Linked DNA regions of Homo sapiens: region 2 is linked to region 1. Evidence: promoter capture Hi-C in 16 types of primary human blood cells and fetal thymus (Javierre and others, 2016). All regions are on one chromosome and are shown on one strand. Each heading gives the region's core, a stretch centred on a gene start or on the middle of the fragment in contact. The rest is flanking DNA. Distances are from core to core; before and after follow the strand shown. Region 1 holds the start of CFAP20DC-AS1 (CFAP20DC antisense RNA 1). Region 2 has its middle 6.9 kb from the start of CFAP20DC.

What was found. Contacts are between HindIII fragments. The CHiCAGO score rates a contact against its expected background, and 5 or more counts as called.
Region 2: a contact is called between a fragment that was not itself captured here and the fragment with the promoter of CFAP20DC-AS1 in region 1, in 2 of 17 cell types (endothelial precursors and megakaryocytes). The highest score is 7.6, in endothelial precursors.

What each region holds. Positions count from the first base shown.
Region 1 is chr3:58,820,982-58,828,104 of GRCh38, forward strand. It overlaps CFAP20DC-AS1 (CFAP20DC antisense RNA 1), which reads left to right and starts at 3,490. Exons shown (of 3, transcript NR_110820.1): 1 at 3,490-3,594. The region is part of intron 14 of CFAP20DC (CFAP20 domain containing); the gene reads right to left. The HindIII fragment of the contact is 7,858 bases long and covers 1-6,808 here.
Region 2 is chr3:59,053,412-59,060,534 of GRCh38, forward strand. No RefSeq gene overlaps it. Among named protein-coding and RNA genes, the nearest start is that of CFAP20DC, 6.9 kb to the left of the region's middle. RefSeq lists a silencer at 4,948-5,198. The HindIII fragment of the contact is 3,967 bases long and covers 2,460-6,426 here.

The sequences.
Region 1 (7,123 bases), core at 2,240-4,739:
TAACGCCACATATCTACAATTATCTGATCTTTGACAAACCTGAGAAAAACAAGCAATGGGGAAAGGATTCCCTATTTAATAAATGGTGCTGGGAAAACTGGCTAGCCATATGTAGAAAGCTGAAACTGGATCCCTTCCTTACACCTTATATAAAAATCAATTCAAGATGGATTAAAGATTTAAACGTTAGACCTAAAACCATAAAAACCCTAGAAGAAAACCTAGGCATTACCATTCAGGACATAGGCATGGGCAAGGACTTCATGTACAAAACAACAAAAGCAATGGCAACAAAAGACAAAATTGACAAATGGGATCTAGTTAAACTAAAGAGCTTCTGCACAGCAAAAGAAACTACCATCAGAGTGAACAGGCAACCTACAAAATGGGAGAAAATTTTTGCAACCTACTCATCTGACAAAGGGCTAATATCCAGAATCTACAATGAACACAAACAAATTCACAAGAAAAAAACAAACAACCCCATCAAAAAGTGGGCAAAGGACATGAACAGACACTTCTCAAAAGAAGACATTTATGCAGCCAAAAAACACATGAAAAAATGCTCATCATCACTGGCCATCAGAGAAATGCAAATCAAAACCACTATGAGATACCATCTCACACCAGTTAGAATGGCAATCATTAAAAAGTCAGGAAACAACAGGTGCTGGAGAGGATGTGGAGAAATAGGAACACTTTTACACTGTTGCTGGGACTGTAAACTAGTTCAACCACTGTGGAAGTCAGTGTGGCGATTCCTCAGGGATCTAGAACTAGAAATACCATTTGACCCAGCCATCCCATTACTGGGTATATACCCAAAGGACTATAAATCATGCTGCTATAAAGACACATGCACACGTATGTTTATTGCGGCATTATTCACAATAGCAAAGACTTGGAACCAACCCAAATGTCCAACAATGATAGACTGGATTAAGAAAATGTGGCACATATACACCATGGAATACTATGCAGCCATAAAAAATGAAGAGTTCATGTCCTTTGTAGGGACATGGATGAAATTGGAAATCATCATTCTCAGTAAACTATCGCAAGAACAAAAAACCAAACACCGCATATTCTCACTCATAGGTGGGAATTGAACAATGAGATCACATGGACACAGGAAGGGGAATATCATACTCTGGGGACTGTTGTGGGGTGGGGGGAGGGGGGAAGGATAGCATTGGGAGATATACCTAATGCTAGATGAGGAGTTAGTGGGTGCAGCACATCAGCATGGCACATGTATACATATGTAACTAACCTGCACAATGTGCACATGTACCGTAAAACTTAAAGTATAATAAAAAAAAATCATGAAAAAACAAACAAACAAACAAACAAACAAAAAAAACCAAACACCGCATATTCTCACTCATAGGTGGGAACTGAACAATGAGATCACATGGACACAGGAAGGGGAATATCACACTCTGGGGACTGTTGTGGGGTGGTGGGAGGGGGAAGGGATAGCATCAGGAGATATACCTAATGCTAGATGACGTGTTAGTGGGTGTAGTGCACCAGCATGGCACATGTATACATATGTAACTAACCTGCACAATGTGCACATGTACCCTAAAACTTAAAGTATAATAAAAAAAAAAAAGACTATACAGACTGATCCCTTTCCATCTTTGCTCATAGTGATTTTTAAGTGTTAGAAAACAAAAAAGTAACCAATGGAAACTTTTCAAATAAAAACTGCTGACACGAACACATAGAAAGGTGAACAACTAGCTGTCTGAGGCTAGACATCCTCACCTACAAATGGATATTGATGGAGTTCAGGACATGGCATTTACAGTAGCAGGAAGGTCACTCTCACCTTCTCCTGTTCTCCCCTGCAGCTGGTCATAAAACATAGCTAGGATTTTCTGAACACCCCCTGGAGCAGGTCATAAGATACTCATTTGAGAGATGCCGTCCCTATCCCCTGAAGAAAGGAACATCCTTATCTCTGAAGACACAGGGACACAGAGAAGAATCTGAACAAAAGCCTTGCTGATTTTCTTCGTTTATTTCCATTAGCTCATATCTCCTTTGCCCAATCATATTTCTCCACCACTTTCCTCTCTTCATCAAACCTGGAGTAAAAATATTCAAGTTTCACTGTTTGTTCAGTTCTTCATTTCCTTATAAAGACTCCTGTATCATGGAAAACTTACATGAAATAAATTTGTATGTTTTTCTTTTGCTAATCTGTCTTTTGTTGCAACAGAGGCCTTGGCGATGAATCCAGGGTGGGTGAGAAAAAGATATTTTTCCTCCCCTACAATATGCTTATAAACATATGTAGCAGTAAACCTATTTCTAGGTAGGTAGCATCCTGTGAAAGCACCAATGAAATAATATAGAATTTGTTTTGATTTTGGCATTCAGTCATACCTAGAGAATATCGTAAGTAGATGCAAAGGGATGACAACCAGTATCTACAATGAACTACGACCATCATCATAATAGCGGCGATTGACATTTATTGAGTACTTATGCTAATTCTTGGTAGATATGATCTTATTTGATCCTCAGAGCAATTCTATGAAATAAATAGGATGAACAACTACATTCAACAGAAGAGGAAATTGACACTGGGTATTAACCCAGGATCGTGCCTGCCAGGAAAGAGTGGAGCTAGAATGTGAACCCAGGCAGTCTGAGTCCACAGCTTACCCTCTCAACCACTAGTCTGTAGTGTTTATTCCAGCTCGAGAGTGCATCTAGAGTGGTGACTATTTAAGTTTTTGAATAACAAAATGACAAAATCAGTTCTGTTTGTGGCAGGAAAAAAAAGTGACCCTGAAGAAATACATTTATTTGAAATATATATGACTATCTCCTTACCATAAATTAATTTCATTGTTTTCATTCTCATGACATGTCACTATGTATTTACAATTTAAAAAATCAGTTTTGCCACGTTACTAAATTTGGGACAATCATAAAATGTAATAGACAGTACTCTGAGAATAAGAAAAGTTTATTTCCTGGGGTGACTTTCATAGTCACTAAACACAGAACAACTTGCACATTTCAATATTTCCTCCTGACAGTACAGATACTGTCTCTATTGTCACTATTACACTGACTCTAATATCAGTTTTCGTATATCATTTCTATAGTTGTATAAGAACATCTGCTCATATGATTTATCTGCAGCTTAGCACAATCAACTGCATACCTTTTTAGTTCAGGAGGATTAAAAGAAAACTCATTCTACCCAAAGAGAGCTGAGAAGTTAATGAATCTGTAGATCAGAACAAATTAAAACCTATTAATTATAAGGAGTCTGAAATGCCAATATATTATATTTTGAATACACAGCAACCAGGAATATCATGCAAAAACGCTGATATGCTGTGGAGCAAAGAAATGGAACAGATCCCAGAAACTCAGGACCTCGGCCTTTTGGTGGCGCTGTTGCTATGTGCTAGTGCCAGGAAAACAGTATTCATATATAATTAACTACCACGGAGCACAAGCAGCTTTGCTTTTCCATGATCAAGCTGCTAGAGATTTTGGGGTGAGGGAGCGAAATGAAGGCTAAATAAAAGAACCGGAGATAAGATAATCCTGCCATGTTAAAAGGTAAAGATAATATTTTTATGTTGTTATGTAAAACCTATGAAAATGGCGATAATGTTGCAAGGTTAATCAAGACCATAAATAACTTGTCTGAGAACCTCACCATATGCCTGCAGTTTTATTAAGTGTATTTTGCCTCGTTATTCTCCGAATATTATGCTCTGCAACATGCCATGTTGATGGATGCATGCAATGAGCTTTTCTTTTCTTTTTTGTAAGCTAAAGAGACTTATGTGCTTGATATTAGGTATGGGAATTCTTTTTTTTTTTTTTAAGAGATGGGGTCTCATTGTGTTACCCACACTGGCCTTGAATTCCTGGGCTAAAATCCTCCTGCCTTAGCCTCCCAATTAGCTGGGAATACAGACCTGTGCCACCATGCCCCCGTTCAGGTTATGTTAATTATTAACCTGAAGGAATGACAGCTTTGGGGCATCTGCTCACAGGGTAGCTGCACAATAAACCTACTTTTCTTGAATCTACATTTGAGGAGAGACAGTGAAATGAAATATTGAAATAATGAGATAATGAAGGAGTTTATTTGGAAGGATCTGAGGGAGTCAGTCTGTATGCTGATGGTTAAACTCACATCAAAACAAACACTACAGAATCTCTGCTTACTCTTTCAGGTCTCAGTCGTCATAAAAAGGGAAAATGTCCTAGAAATTCTGTTCTGATCACTCAAGTGGCCCTTTGAGGAGAATAACCTTGGGGAAACAGCAGTTGACAGTCAGTGTGAGCTTACTCTGCTAAGCACCAGGCACATGCATTTCATGTACTCATTCGATTTGCATAATGCCAATATTAGGAAGGTTCTTTTATTATTTCCATTTCAAAGATGATCATGTCCATAAATGGCAGAGCTGGAATTTGAGCCCAGGTTGACTGATCTAGAGTTTATATTTGTTTGGGCATCCCATGAAGCAGTGTCCATTGATAGCTGTTCCTGTTCCTTAAAAAAAGAAAACACACACACACACACACAACATGGCTTTATGCTATTGTCAATCAAAATCCCTCACCAAGATAAAATTCACTTAAAATTCATTATAACTAACTCCTAGTGCCCTTCCAAAGGCTGCCGAGAGCCCAGTTTTTGAATAAATCTCACGAGGGCTACTCCTAACAGAAACTCTCCAAAATTGATTGATTGTAGCCTGGTTTCCACAGAAGTTGTAAAGTATTGTTTTAATTGAATTTGGTTCTAAGTTAGAAACTTTGAAAAATTTGTCTGTCAAAGGCCAATGGATTTCTCAGTAGGCTTGATTTATTTAGCAAGAGATGCCTACAAAAGCCAATTTGCTATGAGGAATGTGGTTACATTTAATTACACTTTTAAATGACTAATTTGTTATATCTAAACACCTTTTAAACAGTACATATTACTCTGAACTGTACAGATGCTGAGGAATCAAAGTTTGTGTTAAACACAAAGGATTTTGCTAAAGACTCTTCATTTTACTCTGCGTAGGCTTTCTGGCTTCAGACTGCAATGTGTGTGAAGTCGTCAGGTAAAAATGCTAAACTGAATGGGACCGGACTACATCTTTTTCTTCCTATTTGCAATCAGGCCCTGCTCAGAAGGAGATTTTCCTTTGGGTGTATATTTAATATCCATTTATCAAATCTTGAATTGAAAATATTACATGCATCACTCAGGATTTATTTAAGCAAAGCAAAGCTGATGTTTATTTTGGAATCTTGACGAAAATTATTTTAGAGTAAAAAATGAATTTTTAAAAATTATACTTTAAGTTTTGGGATACATGGGCAGAATGTGTAGGTTTGTTACATAGGTACACATGTGTCATGGTGGTTTGCTGCACCCATCAACCCGTCATCTACATTAGGTATTTCTCCTAATGCTATCTATCCCTCCCCTAGCCCCCTACACTCCGACGGGCACTGCTGTGTGATGTTTCCCTCCCTGTGTCCATGTGTTCTCACTGTTCAACTCTCACTTATGAGTGAGAATATGCAGTGTTTGGTTTTCTGTTCCTGTATTAGTTTGCTGAGAATGATGGTTTCCGGCTTCATCCATGTCCCTGCAAAGGACCTAAACTCATCCGTAAACAAGGAATTTTTAAAAATATTATTGATTGATTCATTCAAGTAATGACTGACAACTAGCTGTGATGCCTTGTGCTAGCCTTTGTGCTCCAACACAGAAGGTATGAAAGAACACAGGCAGGGTTCTGCCTTCAAGGAATTCACAACCAGGCCTGGGGATAGTGGTAACAGTGGTTGGCTAATGTCATAAGTGCTGTAATTGAGCCAGAAGATAACAGGGACCCAGAGAGGGAAGCGAATAATTCTGTTCAGGGTGGGATGAGGGTTGGGGAGAGTTTCATGAAGCAGTGACAAGTGAGTTGGGGCCTTCAGAAATAAGCAAAAGGAGGGATAAACAGTCAGAGTACAGAGAATTTTAGGGGCAGTGAAACTACTCTGTATGATACTATAATGGTAGATACATGTCACTATACCTTTGTCTAAATCCATAAAATGCACAACACCAAGAGTGAACCCTGATAATGTGACAATGATGTGTCAATGGAGGTTCATTAATTGTAACAAATTACCACTCTGGTGGGGGACACTGATAATAGGGTTCGTCTCAATTTTGCTGTGAACCCAAAACGGCTCAAAACAATTATAAGTCTTTAATAAAAAATTAGCCAAAAACCAAAAAACCAAAACAGAAATTAAAGAGCCATTTTCTAAATAGAGAAGGAGCTGCCAGACAGAGAAGAGATGAGCATGGCCTGATCTGAACACAGGGCATGGCTCACCAACTGACAGCCAAGTTGACAGTGTGGCAGGAGCAGAGTGGCTCACTTGTGTGTATGTTGGGTGGGGGGTGGGTAGCGAGACAAGCAAAACTCATTTCAAGTGCTACGCAAGCTGACAGAGAAACGAAGGCACTAAGAGGAGGTTATCTTGCTAAAGGAGAGACTCCCCACTGTCCCCTCCACCACAGACTTAATTTGGCTTCCTTTTGGAACTTGGAATTCCAGTCCCCTCTTGTCTGCATGGTAAACTTGAACTCATTCTTGAACTTTGGCTTAACTGTTGTCTTCTCTGTGAAAGCATCCCTGAAACCCACATGCGGAATCACTCCCTCTCACGTGTTCCCATAACTCGTTATTCTATCACTTGCCACCCTGAGTTACAGTGAGCCGTTTACCTGGGCTTCCCCACCAAAACTGTGAATACCTCAAGCTTGGATAAGGCTTTATCTGTATCCTCAGTAGCCAGCCTAGTTCACAGCACATGTGTGCCACTCAAAAACATATGTGTGGAATGAGTGAATGTGAGACAGACAAGCAAGCTTGTGGTGAGAGTTATCAGGGAGATACTCCTGACTCTTGTGGCAGAGAAGGTGTATCCTTCACAACGAGGCCTGGAGAAGGGCTACAGTGACTTTAGAGCTAAGTCTTGAGGATAATCAGGTCCACGGTACAGGGATAATGTGCAGAGTGCATCTAGGGACTACAGAATGGAGTGAAAGGTGGGGTGCAGTGAGAGATGAGGC
Region 2 (7,123 bases), core at 3,193-5,692, 230 kb after region 1:
GGGGGTTGATGTGAATATCTTCTTTGGGCAGCTGTTAATAATAAGGATGGCAAAAGGTATAATGAAAATCTGGGAAGAATCTAGGGGACATCTTAAGGCTTCTAACAATCTACTTGGGTCTCTGAAAAGGGTCTTTTGACACCATAGTTGAAGTGAAATCCACAACTTTGCCCTACTTTATTTTTTTCTTCCTCTTATGATTACATGAGTTAATATGTTTATCATTTATCTACAACTAAAAGGGTGAATTAATAACCTCAATTTGTCAATGAAAAAATGAGCTACAGAATTGAAAATGAATAATTACAGTGAATCAGTAAGTCTTATTACTCAGGTGTTTTTGGTTTTGATCACCTGTTTATTCAACTTAAGACTAGAAGGAAACAGTGTCCATTTATTTCAGTGTCCTCACTTCCTAAAGAGAAAGTAATAGTCCAAAGCCAAACATTGTCATCTGACCGTCCTAATTTCTAACAAGTTCAGGAGACTCAGAGTTGGATTTTCATTAGCAAGTATGATATACTGCTTGTCCAGGAAATGGGCAAATCTGAAAGCTGCCCAAGTTTATCAATGGTATTTTGCCTATGGTGAGAGCCACCATTAACAATGACAATGGTAGCAATAAAACAAAAATAAGAATGTGCAGTACTTTAACAGTATGAATTCAAAATCAGAGAAAGGTGGAAATCCAACTTTACAATAGCAAGTACTCTTCAATTTGATTGAATGCAAGCTATGAACAAAAACTTGGATTTGACTATGACTTCAAGGATATCTAGCAGAATTCTGAAAAAAAGAAAAAAAAAGAAAAAAGCCAGCCTGCCCAAACAACTTGGCTTAAACCAAGTTATTTATGTTCATTATAAAAGATAAACCAAGTTATTTATGTTCCCTATAAAAGACAGTGAAACAATTTCTTTAATTGCTACAATTTTTTAAGAAGTTGGTACATTTAGTAATTGCGTTAAATTGCTTAACTTAATTTGATAACTTTAAGATTAGTCACTTTACAAGCTGTAAAGTGCTTGTCTTTGTTCTACAAAGAAAGTGATTGAAAAAAATAATTTGTTGGTATATTAATATTAAAGGATATTGGATAGTATTTAAAATGGAATAGACTAGAAACAGTTTTTAAAGAGTGGCAGTCTTCGTATGCCAATATAGCCATTCCACTTAGATGAGTATGATTATCAATTTGACGAGAAATAATATCTTTTGAACTAAGAATGTACTGTATTTACCACAATATTGTTGTAGTTTATATTTTGATTACAGTACATAATCTAATTATTTGGCTAATGGGAAGAAATAAGATATCTGTTTCATGAGAATTTGCTACACAGTAATCTAGAAATGTTTAATACTTGAAGGGTTAATTTTTTATACATTATGGAATAGCTTTATGAATGATAATGTTGAGTTGATAGGAAAGTTTTGAAACTGGGCCTATTTTATAGTTTTAAGCAAGAAAAATTAATGATACCAAAGTTATTCATTTGACAGGTGATTTGAAAATAGTAGTGTCTTCTTTTTTCCAGAAAGTATGGAATGGTGAAAGTTTTTGAGGGCTTTACTGTTTTTAGATTTTCTCCTCAAATGGGTTTTTCCCCCTTCTCAGGTCCATGAGATCCTATGGGGACTATTTCTTGCCTGTACCTATAGATGACCAAGTACTTCAAAAGTCATGCATCATTTTAAAATTTCCAAAACCACTTGAAAGCTTTCTCAGGAAAACAAGACAAAACAAAAAAACTATCCCAGTAGTTTGATAATTAGGTATGAATACTTTCCTAAATAAAGTAGCTTTACATAGCAAGCACTTAGGTTTAGAAAAACGACCGTTTGCCAAATGCATCTTTGAAAGGAATACATTTATTGAGTGGATATTTAGTATTAATTTGTTTTACAATGACATAAATGATCAAGGTTTTTAACAGACAAGTTAGATCTAAGTAGCAAGTTTTTCTTGGATAACTTTCTCTAACCTAAAGCCAGTTAGTGTTGATTTGTGATAAAAGGGCTGTAGAAAACTAGATGTTTACATGAGAAAGAATGAAATTGGACTCTTGCTTTACTTTTTAAATGTATATACATGAATTAACTCAAAATGAATCAAAGACATAAGACCTAAAATTATAAAACTCTTATAAGAAAACATAAGGGGAAAACTTAATGACATTGGACTTGGCATTGATTTCTTAACAACCTAGAGTAGATCCAGCTGCATCTAGAGGTCAGAAACATCATCAGGTTTCCTTTCTCCACACTGCTTCCTCTAGGTTGCCTCAGTCGTTAGGCTGGCTCTCTTTAGGTTTACAAAATGGCTATAGCATTCTCAATTTTACATTCTGATATCGCTAAATAGAGCATTTGGGGCTAAAGTCCTGAAGTTTACCTTCATTTGGATCAGTTCAGGGGATATGCCTATCTCTGAAATAAACACTTTGGTCAGATAAATAAGCTTAAGGCTAGATTAAGTGCTTATTCTTAAACCAGTCCCGGCAAACAAGGAGATGAGATATATTGATTGGCTGGGAATGGGGTACCACCCAAACATGTAACTAGGAATGGGGAAGGATTGTTTCCCAAAGGAAACTCTGGGTCCTCTTCTAGGGAAGGAGGAAGATGGATATTGGGCAGCCAAAAGGAGATATCTACTATAATGATTTTTTTTTTTTTTTTACAAATAACAGACACCAGACATATTTTTTAAAAACTCTAACTATACATGAATAATTTAATATGAAAGAAAGGTTCGCTAACATTCTTTAAATGATTTGATGTACATATGTGTAATTCAAATATCATAGGCCCTTTTCATTATCCCAGGATTTACATTAACTCCTTTTTTTTTTTTTTTTTTGAGACGGAGTGTGGCTCTGTCGCCCAGGCTGGAGTGCAGTGCAGCGATCTCGGCTCACTGCAAGCTCCACCCCCTGGGTTCACGCCATTCTCCTGCCTCAGCCTCCCGAGTAGCTGGGAATACAGACGCCCGCCACTACGCCTGGCTAATTTTTTGTATATTTAGTAGCGACGGGTTTTCACCGTGTTAGCCAGGATGGTCTCGATCTCCTGACCTCGTGATCTGCCCACCTCAGCCTCCCAAAGTGCTGGGATTACAGGCATGAGCCACCGCGCCCAGCCTCATTAACTCTTAATATTCAAGCCTGGATTTTTTAAGCTCTTACCTGCTTAGTAACAGGAAATCCAATGTTATTGGATGCCTGTGTATTTCCAGGATCTTTAAGAGGATACTAAGTAGCCAGGAATCACTTCAGAAGTGATTACTTAACTGCATTTTTTTCTCAGACCAAACATTTTTATGAGGGATTCCACTTAGTTGCCATTGTTACCACTATTGCCAAAGAATACCTGCCATGTTTGAAGTTGTTGAAATTAGAATGTAACTGCTTTCGCTAATGTCACCAGTGAAGCAAAGACATCTGGAAGCTGGCCTGACACTCACAGCTAGGTTTTGGTGTTTTGTTGTTGCTATTGTTACTGAACACCAACAGTTTCACAGAATATCAACATCATACAAAACCACTCTGTGACCATGATGAATCAAGATAAAAACATGAATATGGTCCAAATCAAAAAGATGACTAAACATTTCCCTATCGTGGTTAATATGAGTGACTGCTGCTTCTTTACCAATTATAGCTAAGCCTTACTTCATTCTTCCTGTCTTATATATAAGATTTATTAATATTCCCAATCATTGAAATACTCTTGGTTCCTGACAGGATCCAATCCAGAGCAAAGCTCTACTTCCCTAAACCCTCCCCTAAATCAGCTAACATAAGCCCAAATCCTATAGTAAGTTCTAACATCCTCTTACTAGCATACCCAAGGTTCCCCAATGGTGTATTTTCTTCCTTGTTGCAATGAGTAATGAACCCAGCTTCTTCAACTACTGATATATCCCTGATGTTCTTTGGCTGGGGGGCATTAACACCAGTAAATCTAGAATTTTGTGTTTTTATTCTTAGGAAGCAAACTGAATGGTTATTGTGAATTTCACTCAGTTGCCAGGAAGAAGAAAAGTCTTTTCTGCAAAATTATTTGAGCCCCAGTATTCAGTGGTTAGCAATAAAGCTATTGCACTCAAATGATGCAGCTAGTCCAGACCTAACTCTGAAGCCCAGACCCCAATTGGAACTATTTAAATAAAGTGATCTACACTGTCGCCCTGAGTACCACTTACACTGCCTACCACCATCATTGTCCATACTGATTTTTCGATGTGTATCTTCTTTCATTTACCAAGAGAAAGATGTCTTTTCCAGGTAAGATAAGGTGTTTGGGGTGGGGAAGTCCCCACAGCGAAGCTGACTGGGTCCCAAAGTTCTGTAATTTAAAAAATTCACACATACATACATACATACACACACACACACTCACAGGCCTATTCCATGAGGTTGGTTGGGTTGGGACAAGTTTGACTATTTGCCCTACCCATACCAATATTTCCTTATCATTTCAGGTCCTGTTACTCATCTAACTCATTGTATATTCTTTCCTAATGGTGAATTCTTTTCTGAAGCCCCTCCTAAAATCTGATTTCCCCAATTTTCTGTCAGTTAGGCATAGCTCTGTCAGGTAGGCATACATATGTCAACAGAGTTTAAATATTTTTCTCCTGGGAGGCTCTTGGCCCTCAATAAAACCACCAGATGCAAATAGGTTATGTGTATGAAGAAATTCACACCAGTCCCCTAAAATATCTAATCTTAGTTCAAATTAGACCACATAGAGAGGGAAGTTGTCTAACTCAACTGTCCAAAAGCATCTGAGTTCCACCTCCACTCAAGTGCCCTAGTACTAGCTTATATTTCACCACCAAGAATATGTGCAGAAGAATGGGATTTCCTTCTCTCTTTTCCCCTTTCTCACCCCACAGGAGGCAGATATTTTGTTTAGCATATTAAATGCCGTTAAGCTATGGAACACAGTCAATAATATGTAGAGAAAAGTCTATTCATCTCATAGAAGTTCCAGTGTGAAGAACCCGAAGGACTTCTCAACCCCACCTCACCCACCTCTTACCCCAGGGCCCAGGGTAAGGACCTACCATGACCACTAGGATAGAGAGACAGGTGAAACTTAGAATTCTCCTTCAGCTATGCTTCTAGGATGGAACTGGAACCCAGGAGGGAGTTCAGAGGGATAGAAAAAGCTACAAAGAAGAGGGAAGACAAGATAAATGCGAAGTGGGAAAAAGGCAGTAGAAGGGAATCCAGGATGTTCATCTTGCAAGGTCTTCTGATGTCTGATATTTTTTGTGTTTCTGATAAGTTAATGGAAAGGATATTTTCTTGCCATTCACACAGACTTCTGCATGTGTGCTGATAGTGTGTGCCTAATGCATACAAACACATTCAGAACACCTTTTCAGAACACATATGAATAATAACCATTATTATTATTTCTTATTTCAATAGGTTTTTGGGAAACAGGTGGTGTTTGGTTACATGGATAAGTTCTTTAGTGGTGATTTCTGAGATTTTGGTATGCCCATCACCTAAGCAGCATACACTATACCCAATGTGTAGTCTTTTATCCCTCATCCCCTTCACACCCTTTCCTACAAGTCCCCAAAGTCCATTGTATCATTCTTATGCCTTTGTATCCTCATATCTTAGCTTCCACTTATGAGGGAGAACATACGATGTTTAGTTTTCCATTCCTGAGTAACTGCCCTTAGGATAATGGTCTCCAATTCCATCCAGGTTGCTGCAAATGCCATTATTTCATTCCTTTTTATGCCTAAGTAGTATTCCATGGTATGTGTGTGTGTGTGTGTGTCTATATATATAACATTTTGTTCATCCACTTATTGATTGATGGGCATTTGGGCTGGTTCCATGTGTTTGCAGTTGTGAATTTTGCTGCTATAAACATGCATGTGCAAGTGTCTTTTTCATATAAGGATTTTTTTCCTTTGGGTACATACCTGGTACTGGGATTGCTGGATCAAATGGTAGATCTACTTTTAGTTCTTTAAGGAATCTCCACACTGTTTCCACAGCGCTTGTACTAGTTTATATTCCCACTAGCAGTGTAAAAGTGTTTCCTTTTCATCACATCCATGCCAATGTTTATTATTTTTTGATTTTTTCCTTATGGCCATTCTTACAGGAGTAAGGTGGTATTGCATTGTAGTTTTGATTTGCATTTCCCTGATAATTAGTGATGCTGAACATTTTTTCATATGCTTGTTAGCCATTTGTATATCTTCTTTTGAAAAATGTCTATTCATACCATTTGTCCATTTTTTAATGGGATTGTTTTTCTTGCTGATTTGTTTCAATTCCTTGTAGATGCTGGATAGTAGTCTTTTGTCAGATGCATAGTTTGCAAATATAGTCTCCCATTCTGTGGGTTGTCTGTTTACTCTGCTGATTATTTCTTTTGCTGTGCAGAAGCTTTTTAGTTTAATTAAGTTCCATCTGTTGATCTTTGTTTTTGTTGCATTTGCTTTTGGGCTCTTGGTCATAAAGTCTTTGCCCAAACCAATGTCTAGAAGGGTTTTTCTGATGTTATCTTCTAGAATTTTTATGGTTTAAAGTCTTAGATTTAAGTCTTTGATCCATCTTGAGTTGATTTTTGTATAAGGTGAGAGATGAGGATCCAATTTCATTCTTCAACATGTGGCTTGCCAATTATCCCAGCACCATTTGTTGAATCGGATGTCCTTTCCCCACTTTATGTTTTTGCTTGCTTTGTCAAAGATCAGTTGAATGTAAGCATTTGGCTTTATTTCTGGGTTCTCTATTCTGTTCCATTGTTCTATGTCCTATTTTTATACAAGTTCCATGCTGTTTTGTTGATTGTAGACTTCAAGTATTGGTTGAAGTTGGGTAATGTGATGCCTCCAGATTTGTTCTTTTTGCTTAGTCTTGATTTGGCTATGCAGGTTCTTTTTTGTTTCCATATGAATTTTAGGATTTTTTTCTAGTTCTGTGAAGAATGATGGTGGTATTTTGAAGGGAAATGCATTGAATCTGTAGATTGCTTTTGGCAGTATCATCATTTTCACAATATTGATTCTTCCCATCCACAAGCATGGAATTTGTTTCCATTTGTTTGTGTCATCTATGATTTCTTTCAGCAGTGTTTT